Regions from separate parts of the Homo sapiens genome. Here regions 1, 2 and 4 are each linked to region 3. Evidence: promoter capture Hi-C in 16 types of primary human blood cells and fetal thymus (Javierre and others, 2016). All regions are on one chromosome and are shown on one strand. The core of a region is centred on a gene start or on the middle of the fragment in contact, and the rest is flanking DNA. Distances in the headings are between cores, read along the strand shown.

Region 1 (2,700 bases), core at 115-2,614, 1.6 Mb before region 3:
CTGGGGCCAGTGCTCAGTGCTTAGAAAATAACCAACTGTCCTGTTTATCTTAAAACTCATCACTATTAACTTTACAGTTTAGTCAGGTTATTTCATTTCAGGAACTACAGTTTGCCAGTGTAGTAAAATTAAATTGGGACCCAGGTAACAACAAATCCTACTGTTGGGCTGTGTAAGAATTTGGGGAGCTTTTGAAGGTCATCCTTTGTGACAAACTATCAAAGTCATTTGGAAACAACAATGAGATATTACCCAACTCAGGTGGAGATAGAATTTTGCTCACTTTGGCAAGGATAATTCTGCCAACAGAAATAAAAGATTAGATGCTTGGAAACAACGGAGAGGAAGGGGTTGAGGGAAAAATCCAGGGCATGTCTGAATCGTCTGAATCCTGCGTTCACCTTGTCAGACCTGGACACCAATGTCTACAAAAATTTGACAGCCTAAAGTGGAAAACCAAGTGAATATGTCTAACTTTCAAATGGATGCATTAGAAAGAAGGTTGCCAACTTTTGTCTCTTTGGGAGAAGATTATTGTATCCACTAAATCACCTTTGGTTTACCTTTTTGGTTTACCTTTGGGTTTACCTTTTTATGATAAGATGGGTTTTGAAACACTTTCCCATAAGAAAGCTGGTCTATATTGCTTTTTTTTTTTTTTTTGGATAGAGTTTCCCTCTTGTTGCCCAGGCTGGAGTACAATGGCATGACCTAGATTCACTGCAGCCTCCGCCTCCCGGGTTCAAGAGATTCTCCTGCCTCAGGCTCCAGAGTAGCTGGGATTACAGGCACCCGCCACCATGCCTGGCTAATTTTTTGTGTTTTTAGTAGAGACAGGGTTTCATCATGTTGGCCAGGCTGTTCTTGAACTCCTGACCTCAGGCAATCCACCTGCCTCAGCCTCCCAAAGTGCTGGGATTACAGGTGTGAGCCACCACACCCAGCCTACATTGCTTTTATAATATCATCTCCAAAGTACTGCCGTCAGCATGCCCCACATCCAAGCTTTCCAATTCCCTGCAGCCCACTCTAGTAACACTCAAAGAATAGCTCTAAGGAAATAAAAACTACAGAAAAAGTCGTGATAGCCAACACTTTAACATAAAAAATGCCTAAAACCTTTTAAACTAAATTGTTTCTTAAAACAGAAGATTTTGCTAATTAGAATTAAGGCAGACTGTACTGAGATTATGTCAAGGAAAGCATTTTTGTCTGTGTTTAATTTACTACAGTTGTATTTAATTACACAGTTAAGAAGAGTAAGGAAAGTCTCAGGAGGGTGATCTTCGAGTACTCAACACCTAGGCATAAGAAACTTTGGAGTTTCCTGTATATTCTGTTTTTCAGACACACAAGGTCTCAACCTTTGCTATAAAGAGATACTACATTTATTTTGAATACTGAGAAAAATGACATTCTTCAGTAAATGCACATGGCAACTCATGTATAGAAACAAGCTCCTTGTTCAATGGACCTTCCAGTAACCATGGCAGCCACGAGTCTCTGGGATCATTTCCCTTAGATGCTGCCATGAGAATTCCAGTCTGTGGAAGATGGCACTAACATGGAATGCCTTCCTCCTCAACCTCTCAGCAATGTACACATGCCAACTACAGAAAAATGCTGAATAAGTTATAGTAAATGTAAAATAAAAGTGCATAGCTGAGATTGCAATAAAGAAAAATAAAACCACAGGTACCTAAAATGAGTGGGGATTTCCATCCAAAGCTTGAGTGGGTATTGAGCATGTTGAACATGAGAGTGGAACACCTCTGTGGAGACATCAGAAGCAAAGATTGTCTTGAGTACTAGATATTCAGTGTTCCTACAAGGACAGTTATTTTCTTGAGTTTGGTGGGAAGAGACTAGAATTAAACCTGTTTATGTAAGGCCAGAATATAAGGACTAAAAAACATCTGTTCACTGTCTTTTTTTTTTTTTTTTTTTTTTTTGAGATGGAGTCCCACTTTGTTGCCCAGGCTGGAGTGCAGTGGCACCATCTCGGCTCACTGCAACTGCCGCCTCCTGGGTTCAAGCAATTCTCGTTCCTCAGCCTCCTGAGTAGCTGGGACTATAGGCATGGCCACCAGGTCCAGCTCATTTTTATATTTTTAGTAGAGATGGGGTTTTGCCATGTTGGCCAGGCTGGTCTCAAACTCCTGACCTCAAGTGATCCGCCCGCCTTGGTCTCCCAAAGTGCTGGGATTACAGGTGTGAGCTGCCATGCCCAGCCTCTGCTCACTCTTTCGGGTTCTATTTCCCATGTGGCAGAACCTCCTGCCTTAGTATGCATGGGCTTGGGGTTCTTAATTTATCCTACATGAAATGAAGAACTCGATCTAGAGAAGAGACTAGAAAAAGAATGAACAGAACAGAACTAGAAAAAGAATGAACATAGATGGCTTGCATGAAGTGATTATATTTAATTGCAGTCTCAGAGGGGAGATAAAATGAGGGGAATAGTTGAAGAAATAAATGGCCAAAAATTCCCCAAATTTAGTGTAAATGATAAACCTACAGATCCCAGAAAGTCAACAAAATCCAAGCAGAAGAAAATGAGAGAAATCACACTAAGGGGCATCGTAATCACATTTCTAAAAAGTGATGATAAAGAGAATATCTTACAGCAGCTAGAGAAACAAACATACAAACACATTTTACACAGAGAAACAAAGATAAAATTACAGCAGACTCCTTTTC
Region 2 (2,832 bases), core at 104-2,603, 1.6 Mb before region 3:
GCTTTGGACTCAGCTGACCTCAATCGGGTCAGACGCTCACACCCTCTAGGCCTCCATTTCTTTATAAGCTGGGGATAACGACCTTCACTTAGAGCAGTGTTGTGAGGATTTCATGAGGTAATTTCTATAAAACGCCTTCAACAGTGCATGACACTTAAGTGCTCATGAAATTGGGGTCTTGTTTGAGGGATTTCATGTGGTGGTTATAGCTGGAGGCTTGAAACAGGACGCCCTACAGCCATTTCTTACCAAAGTGGCGCCAGGTGAGGTACTTGGCCTCCTGTGTCTCAGTGTCTTCATCTTTCACACGGATGAAAGGCTGTGTATTTCCATCTTGCTGTAGGGTTTAAATGGGTGAACGTGCTCAGCAAAGGGTAGCTGGTAGTCTTACTTGTGCCTCCACACAAGGCTGCAAGGGAACCTGAAGAGACATGAAAGGCTGCGTTCAACCTCCCCTCTCACAGCTGTGGATGAAGGGAATTCTTCTGAACTAGGTAAACCAAACATGATTTTTTCATTCATTTGTTGATTGCCCTTAAAATCCTTAGGGAGTGTTGTGATTTCCCCTCTGTTGTACCCACGTCATCTCCCTTTGTAATTAAAGTTTCTTCCTACTAGTTTGCCTGTACTCCCGGGGCCTCTGGTTGAACTGGGGTCAAGAATCCATCAGCTCCTCACATGAGTCAGGTGAAAGTCCTGAAGTGAAGCATCGTGAATTACTCACACAGCCCTCACGGCCCCTCAGAACTGGGCTCCCATAGGTGAGGAGGAGAAAGAGCAACTCGTTTTACAAGGAGCTCCCACATTCTCCTGTATAAAGAGGTCTTGAGAACTTTCCAAGTGAACTTCCAGGACAAAAGAAATGGGTTTGGCTACATGTGATTCCAACATCAGTGCTGGGTGGTCACTCCAGGAATCTGGATGGTCATTTAGCTGGTGCTAAGTTCTCTCTTGGGATGTGGAGCCTTTTGAATTAATCAGAAGTCTTGCTGCCACGTGAGCAGACTCTAGTGGCACTGACCTGTCCCCTGATCATTCGTAAATCTCTCAGACCCCTCCATCACATGGCTGGCCTATGCCAACCGTCTTCATCATTCTCCAGTCATCCCAATACTTACCCTCCACCTGTGAGAGTGTAACGATTTGAAATTTCAGCTTACTTTAACATCATGAATGAGGAAGATTATATCCAGAAATAGGTACAATAGTCACTTTTCAAACAAACTGCACATGGAACAAATGAATAGTAATTCAGACATTTGGAATATGAGGAATTTAGCTGAAGAAGGTCTTTCAGGAACTCTTATGAATGTACCTTTCTGTGATAATCAGAAATCTACTTATATGTCTACAGAACTCCACGGGGTAATACTTGGTAACATTCTAAGTGTCTCTTCATTGGAAATGAAGCATTTGCTGAGTTTCTTGAGTTTGCTGTTACAATAAATAATGCTTAGCTTCTCTTGAAAATATTGTGGCAAAAGCAGAAAAATAGACTGGAAGACATAGAAAAATATTTGCCAATTCAGTTACTAGATGATAAGTTCTTATTGAAGTGAATAATCTGTGGTAAAACACCATGAAAAAGCACATTTTAGCATCACAGGACTTTTGGAGAGAAGTTGAGTCGTAATGTAATAGTCTCTCAAAGTCTACTTATTGAGTATTTTTTTAAACATTTTTTTCCTGGAGTTTAATAATAAAACGATTCTAGGGGAAAGAAGCAAATACTTCAAGCCACATCACAGAAACACCTCTTCTAATGTCTGCTTTCTGGGTCTCGATCATTCTGATGAATTCCAGTGAATTCCAAGAGCTTTTATATTTTTCATCTCTCATAATTTCCCATTGCCCTAAGTATATGCTCAGTGCCTCCCCACGTTTCCGAGGCTTCAGAGGTGAAGAGTGATATATTGCAAGCACACTTCAAGCCATGAGTGCCCATCCTTGCCAAAAATCACATCCTTTAAATGCAACAAGAATTACATATGGCCGAGTGACAATTCAGTCTATAATACAGGAGCACAGCTGGGGGAGCCATGGGAAGCACTGCAGGTCACAGCGTGAAGTTGATGATTGTGTTTCGCCAGTTTCCTCTAAGAAGTGGATTGTTTTCTTGAGCTTTTTTTTTTTTCTTAAGTAATAGTCTTATACTTTTGGAATAGTCTTATTTTTATTTGAAAAAGTCTTTAGGAACAAGACATCTTCTCACTTTTGATTGAGAATATTCAAGATGTTTAATTCGAGGTAACAGGCATTTAGTCTGAGAATCCATTCCCCTCATCCCCGCCCCAGGAGTGCCTGGGTTCGTGGCATTTGATAAAATGAAGAAAATAAATGTGACCACACAGATATTCACCATGGATCTCCCATGTTCCTCTGTCTGAATAACACTATGGAATTCTTGGAAGCAGCTTGTGTGTTTTAATCTTGGAAGCTCAGGAATTCCACCTGGTCTGCACCTGCAGAAGCTACAGTAGGCACCCCACCTTGCTGCTGATGCAGTTTCTGTGCCATTGCTGGTGGAGGCAGCGGAGCAGAGGCGCAGGCACAATGAAGCGGGGACGTGTTCTGCAGATTGCTGCTAAACTCGCCTTATTCTGACTTTTGGATTTCATGACATTCCAGGGAGCTACCTGCCATGCTGTTGGCCTGGAAGCCCACCTGACTGGTCCATAGTGACGTCCTGAAGAGCCAGTCTGTAAAATAACCAACAACTTGTTTAGCTTTTGGATAGACTCCACACCTCCTCTTTCTCTGCAAAGAAAAATCTTGAATATTTATGGATGACAATTAGGGAAAGTATTGAAAATAGTGAAATATAATTAAAAA
Region 3 (2,750 bases), core at 220-2,719:
CTGCCTGTGGCGCCTCGTCCTCCGAGCGCTCGCTCGCAGCGCCCCCTGCCGGGAATCCCGAGGACGCCGCAGGCGCAGGAAAGTTAAATCCCAACTCCGGCCGCGGCATCCTGGTACAAAGCAAGCAAAGGGCGAGGAGGTGAACGCGCTTCCCGCCAAAGCCAGGGGAACAGGGATGTGACCGCTCCAAGCCAGGCACCGGCCGCCGCGGGGAGCGAGCCGGGGGAATCACTCCTCCACGACCGTTCCCACGCACATCTTGGGAGAAACCATTCCCTCTGGAGCCCGATCTGCCCGAAACCCTGGGGTCTGAAACCCTGAGCCGCGGTGTGCAAAATCCGTGGAGCAGCGGAGGGATGCCTGGTGAAAGGGGCTCGCCTAGCTGCAGCGCACCTGGCTGGTGGTTCCCCAGGCCTCTGCATCCCCCGCCTTAGTGTCTTTCATTAACCAAGGCGCTTGGCGGAGTTGAGCCCAAGTCCCATTGCCTCCCGGTTCCCCTGTAAGGAAAGCAGGAAAACCTGCCCAAGCCGGTGGGGCTGCGAGGTGGCCGCTCCCGAACCGCCAAGTCCCGACCTCCGTGTCCCCTGCCCCCGGCTCGCGGCAGTGCGAGCCTGGAGGCGCGCCGGGGGCGGGCACAGACCAGTGTGCGCACCTTTCCGGGTGTTGGGCAGGGGTCCCGTCTCGCCCACCGCGACACTCCGGCTCCTTACCTCTCCATGCTCAGACCTCGGCACAGGCGGGTACACAAACTTCCAGCCCGTGCACTAGCTCAACTGTGGGCGCCCCCGGACTGACGGTCGTCCTAATCCTGTACGCGCAACCCCCGCCCAGGTGCCTGCTGATGGATCCCACCCGAGATCGGCACCACCCACCAGCCGACCGCTGCAGTCCCCGGGTCCCGGCCAGCGGCGCGGCGCGGCGCGGCGCGGTCAGGGGCTCCTGCCAAGGCCACGCAGGAATCGGGCGGGGGTCGCTCACCAGGTGCGAGGAGCGCTGGTGCCAGTCATCCAGCGCCTGGGGGCCAGAGCGGCTCCGAGGATCCTCTTCAGCACCTGGCTAGGGAAGTGGAGGCAGCAGCTGCAGCCGCCCCCTGCCACTTCCCCAGAGCCGCCCCCTACTCGCTGAGTTCCAGAATGGGGGCACCGGCTTGGGGGCCACGAGCACGGTCCCCGAGCGCGCGGCCAACCGGTGGGTGGGCAGGTTCGCGCCCAGCAGAGACGACCCTCGAGGTGGCAAAGTTGGGTGTCCAAGCCAGCTCCGCGGGGCAGTCCTGGGTGGGAGAAGGGAGCGTCCCGGGATGAGCGACACTGGCCGGGCCGCCCCTGCACGGGGAAGGTGGAGGGCCGGGGCTGCAGCGGGCCAAGGGCCGCGGCTGGCCTGAGGCTGCGAAGCCCACCCGCGGCGGGAAAGCAGCGCTCGGGAGCGGGCTCAGGGAGAGCAGCCGCCACCGGCGCCGCCTTCCCGGCAAGTAGATCGGCGCGGGGCGAGCGGGCGCGGAGAGCGCGGGGCGGAGAGCGCTGGGCGGGGAGCGGGGGACAGCCTGGGCCCACCCCCGCCCCGCCCCGCCCCTGCCCCGCCCCCGCCGCCGCGCCGCCTCCTCCTCCTCCTCCTCCCCGCCGGGGTGAAACTCGAGCGCCCCACCCGCGCCTGACCTCCCCGAGCCCCTCCCCGGGCCCCGCCCCTTCCCGGTACAGGACCCCCACCTTCGCTCCTGGGAGCCCCGCTGCACCCCAGGAGTTCCATTCCAGCCTCCCCAGTGCGAGTGCGGCCGAGCGCTGACTTTTGGGGGCTCCCTCCCCCGTCTCACTGGGTCCCTCTGCGGCTCCCCCGCCCGCTGTCCCGGTTCAGACGTGGCTGCACCCCGGAGGGGGGCGCCGGCCGAGACCTGAGACGTGGCGCTCCCTCTCTGCCGGCCTCGGCTTCAGGTACGTGCGGTTCCCTCGGCTAAATCTGGCCCGGGGGATGGGGGGCAGGGGCCGTCTGGTCCTCCGGAACTCGAACTTTGTGATTTTGTTCTTTCTGTGTGACATCCTCATCCGTTCTGAGGGAGAAACTCCTTAAAGAAGACGAGAGAGTCAGTCGTTGCGGGTTCTTGGAGGAGCACTTTGGGGGTGAGACTCCCGGCTAGTTCGGGTCGATTTCAGCGGGATTAAGTCAAGGAAATGAACAAATCTGACGAATCAGGGAGGCCAGAGAAGGCGTCCCCAGGTAGCCACGCTGAGCGTTAAGAGAGAAGTCCCGTATGGTCAAAGTCATTCGTCCAATTCTGTGTCAATTATTCCTTGTTGCACTTTTGCAGGATCCTTGGGCCTTACTAAGTACTCAGGTGAAAAGTTGATAATTGGGAAGCAAGTAAAGTACCTTTGAAGACGTGTATAATTGGACACTTTGTTGCAGTTCTTCAGTTTCTGGAGGAGGCGGTGGGGGGGGAGAGGGAGGGGGTCAGCCTCGCGAAAAGAGCAAATGGTAAAGTTATAGGAGTATAAGGCATAAAACTTGGGTTGGGAGTCCTGACTGGCCTTGAGTGGCCCTTTCCCACTGGATGGGGGTGCGGGACAGTATCTCTGGGCCCTTTTTACTCAGTCTGCGCCTCAGAGGGAGGCTTGAAGGTCCCCTGCATGAGGAAATGTGTGAATTGCCCCCTCCTGACCGCAGTGAGGTAGGGACCCCCGCAAGGACCCACGTTCACACCAGCGCCCTTCCAGCCAGTGGTGGGGTATGGATGGGCCTCGCTGGTCCTGGGCATGGTC
Region 4 (2,700 bases), core at 176-2,675, 1.6 Mb before region 3:
GATAAGTTTCTGAATTGCTTTTCTGTGTTATCCTGAATATCACTGAGTTTCCTTAAAACTGCCATTTTGAATTCTTGGTCAGAGAGTTCACATATCACCATTTCATTAGGGTCAGTTGCCAGTTCCTTGCTTTGTCCATTTAGGAGAGATCATGGTTCTCTGCTATTGTTTCTGTTGGATGTACATCTGTGTCTTTTCATTGAAGAATTAGTTATTTATTCTAGTCTTCTCTGACATTTTTGTTTTTTATTGGATATGTTTTCTTAGAGATCCTTTATAATTTACCTTTTGATATTTTTTCTTTTTTTCCCCTACTAGGTTGCTGCTCCCTTTTCAGCAGTAGATGACACCTTAAGACCAAGTTTGCCTTGGTTCTAGTAAGCAATCAGAGTACCACCTATCTCAAATCAGAAGGTTTCAAAGGGGATATCCCAGTAGTATGAGAAGGCTGGGGGTTCATGCCCAGAGGACCTGTGAAACAAACCTCTTACAGCATCATGCTACTGAAGAGCCACTCTGATTTAGTGTTTTAGTTGGCCAAATTACAGAGCAAAATTTTCAGGCCTAGGGATGGTAGTTCCACCTTCCCTCTTTGTCTCTGGCTGTTCTCAGGGATATTTCTCCCTTCAGACACTACTGATAGTTTCTGTGGGCAAAAGGGAAAGGTCTCCTACTAGGGTGCCCTGAATGGTGGGGAAGCTGATTGTCCACCTTGATGTCACTTTTTTCAGTGTAGAGACTGTATGTTGAGGGAAAATTTTCCACATGCTTTGTGATGGGCAGATTGGGTGGAGGGGCATTATGAATATGGAAGTCTGATTCCCTTACTGTCTGCTTAAAATTTGTTCAATTCTCTGTGATTCCAGGAACTGTCTCATTCTCATCTGAGTCCTGGAATACTACTGGTGATAATCTTGGCACTGTGTATTTGTTTCTGGGTTTCTGTGGGGAGGAGGTAATGAGGCCAACTTGTTTCTACACCACCATTTTGGAATGGGAAGCTTTCATTTAAGTTGTAATACTTATTTTACTTTTTATTTTTAACTGGAATGATATATACATAGATGAGGTTCAGTAAAACTTTTTTTTAACTGACTGTAAACATTTTTACTGACCGTGTTTTACTGACTGTGCTTTTTAATGACTGTGAACATTTTTACTGTGTTTATTTTCCACCATCATTAATATATGTTTCATTACATAATTACTACTGAAAAGAATTTTGTCACATAAGGGATGTGATAAACCATTATCTGCTTGGGTTTCAAATGTGTTATGGATAACACTGCTGAACCAAAGCATAACTTTTGAAAGAGGAAGTACATGGGATCATCATAATAAATAATACAGTGTCCTGAGTGATGAGCTTTCTATTATGCTACAGGAAGAATTTCATTAAAAATAATAATAGAAAAACATTTAAAAATTTTACCATTTTATTAACATTCTATATTTTTCTACTCCGTTAAAATGCAGAAGTCAGAAAATGGAACATTTCCCTTTCACTATTTCTGCCATTAAAAAAATAGTACATTTTCTTGATTGTTTGTCATCTTAAACTACCTTTATCCTTTTGCAAGGTAGACTCTTCAGTATCTTTTTTAATCACAACAGATTAGAATATATACGATGGTACTTCGGAATATATGAATTACATTTTAATTTCTGAATGTTTATCTTATTTAATGTCAAATATATATATGTGTGTGTGTGTGGGTGTGTATGTATAGTACTTGTATGGCTTAAGGCTTCAAATGCTACTCAAAATAGTATCCACACTAAATCATTTTCTCTGAAAACACTCCTTCCTGTGTTTTGAGCTGGGCTCTGGGTAAACAAAAAAAGGAGTAAAGCTTAATAATGTTTCCTGTATCTCCAGTCTGCTGGCCTTCTCGTTCAACCAAGAACTTTGATTTGCAGATTTGGTGTTAACAGCCTTTGTAACATTGTCCTCGTTTTGAGGAAATTATTAAATCTTTATCAACCTTTGTAATTGGGTAGGCATGTTAACCTAAATGGATAGGAATTTTGATAGTGGCTCATTAGTTTATTTAATAAAAGTGTTTAAAGCTATATCTGACACAAAATAAGTATTTAAAATGTATGAGTATTTATGCTACTGTTACTGCTATTACTATTACTACTATCACTTCTACAAATGTTCCTGGAGAAACACCAGGTTGATGGGTGTGCTCTGAATTTTGGAGAAGGATTTAATGTACAACAAGGTCATTTTGATGTGTTTTTAGTTCTCCTGGCAAGTGCCCAGCTCATCACATGGTTCCAGAGCAGACATCTGTCTCCATGGTCCTTTATTCAGTAGCAGTTAACTCAGCACCTTTCACAGCTTTAATTCATTTTCTAAAGGTTAACAGGCAAAGAACAGGTTCAGAAAAGGTCTAAATCATGTTTTTATTTTTCCAGGTGGATGACTTTAACAAAAGATCATGACTCCATTGTGTATAAGAGCAGTTAAATTCTGCCTTTGTTTCAGAACATATCTGTAGGTTATTAAGTTTTTCTTTTGCTTCAGTATTTTCAAGGGGAAGTGAGAAAGTTGTAATTTCTTTGTAAGAAGTTTCTCTGTAAAATATGTGAGCTACTGTCACAAGACCCAGTACAGCTGAGGGACTTAGCCGCTGTATCAGTCTGTTTTCACGCTGCTGATAAAGGCATACCCCAGACTGGGCAATTTACAAT

What was found. The method cuts DNA at HindIII sites, captures the fragments that hold promoters and counts their contacts. A CHiCAGO score of 5 or more calls a contact.
Region 1: a fragment that was not itself captured here is called in contact with the fragment with the promoter of SEMA5A in region 3 in 1 of 17 cell types (M2 macrophages); the score reaches 5.1 in M2 macrophages.
Region 2: a contact is called between a fragment that was not itself captured here and the fragment with the promoter of SEMA5A in region 3, in 2 of 17 cell types (M2 macrophages and M1 macrophages). The highest score is 6.4, in M2 macrophages.
Region 4: a contact is called between a fragment that was not itself captured here and the fragment with the promoter of SEMA5A in region 3, in 2 of 17 cell types (endothelial precursors and M0 macrophages). The highest score is 6.3, in endothelial precursors.

Annotation. Positions count from the first base shown.
Region 1 is chr5:7,944,360-7,947,059 of GRCh38, forward strand. No RefSeq gene overlaps it. Among named protein-coding and RNA genes, the nearest start is that of MTRR, 77 kb to the left of the region's middle. The HindIII fragment of the contact is 723 bases long and covers 1,004-1,726 here.
Region 2 is chr5:7,928,193-7,931,024 of GRCh38, forward strand. No RefSeq gene overlaps it. Among named protein-coding and RNA genes, the nearest start is that of MTRR, 60 kb to the left of the region's middle. RefSeq lists an enhancer at 148-1,347. The HindIII fragment of the contact is 9,391 bases long and covers 1-2,832 here.
Region 3 is chr5:9,544,606-9,547,355 of GRCh38, forward strand. SEMA5A (semaphorin 5A) reads right to left here and starts at 1,470. Exons shown (of 23, transcript NM_003966.3): 1 at 979-1,470. SNHG18 (small nucleolar RNA host gene 18) reads left to right here and starts at 1,595. Exons shown (of 3, transcript NR_045196.2): 1 at 1,595-1,925. RefSeq lists a silencer at 1,404-1,593. The HindIII fragment of the contact is 4,033 bases long and covers 1-2,750 here.
Region 4 is chr5:7,908,627-7,911,326 of GRCh38, forward strand. LOC124900936 (a long non-coding RNA gene) reads left to right here. Exons shown (of 2, transcript XR_007058683.1): 2 at 1-2,073. Among named protein-coding and RNA genes, the nearest start is that of MTRR, 41 kb to the left of the region's middle. The HindIII fragment of the contact is 852 bases long and covers 1,000-1,851 here.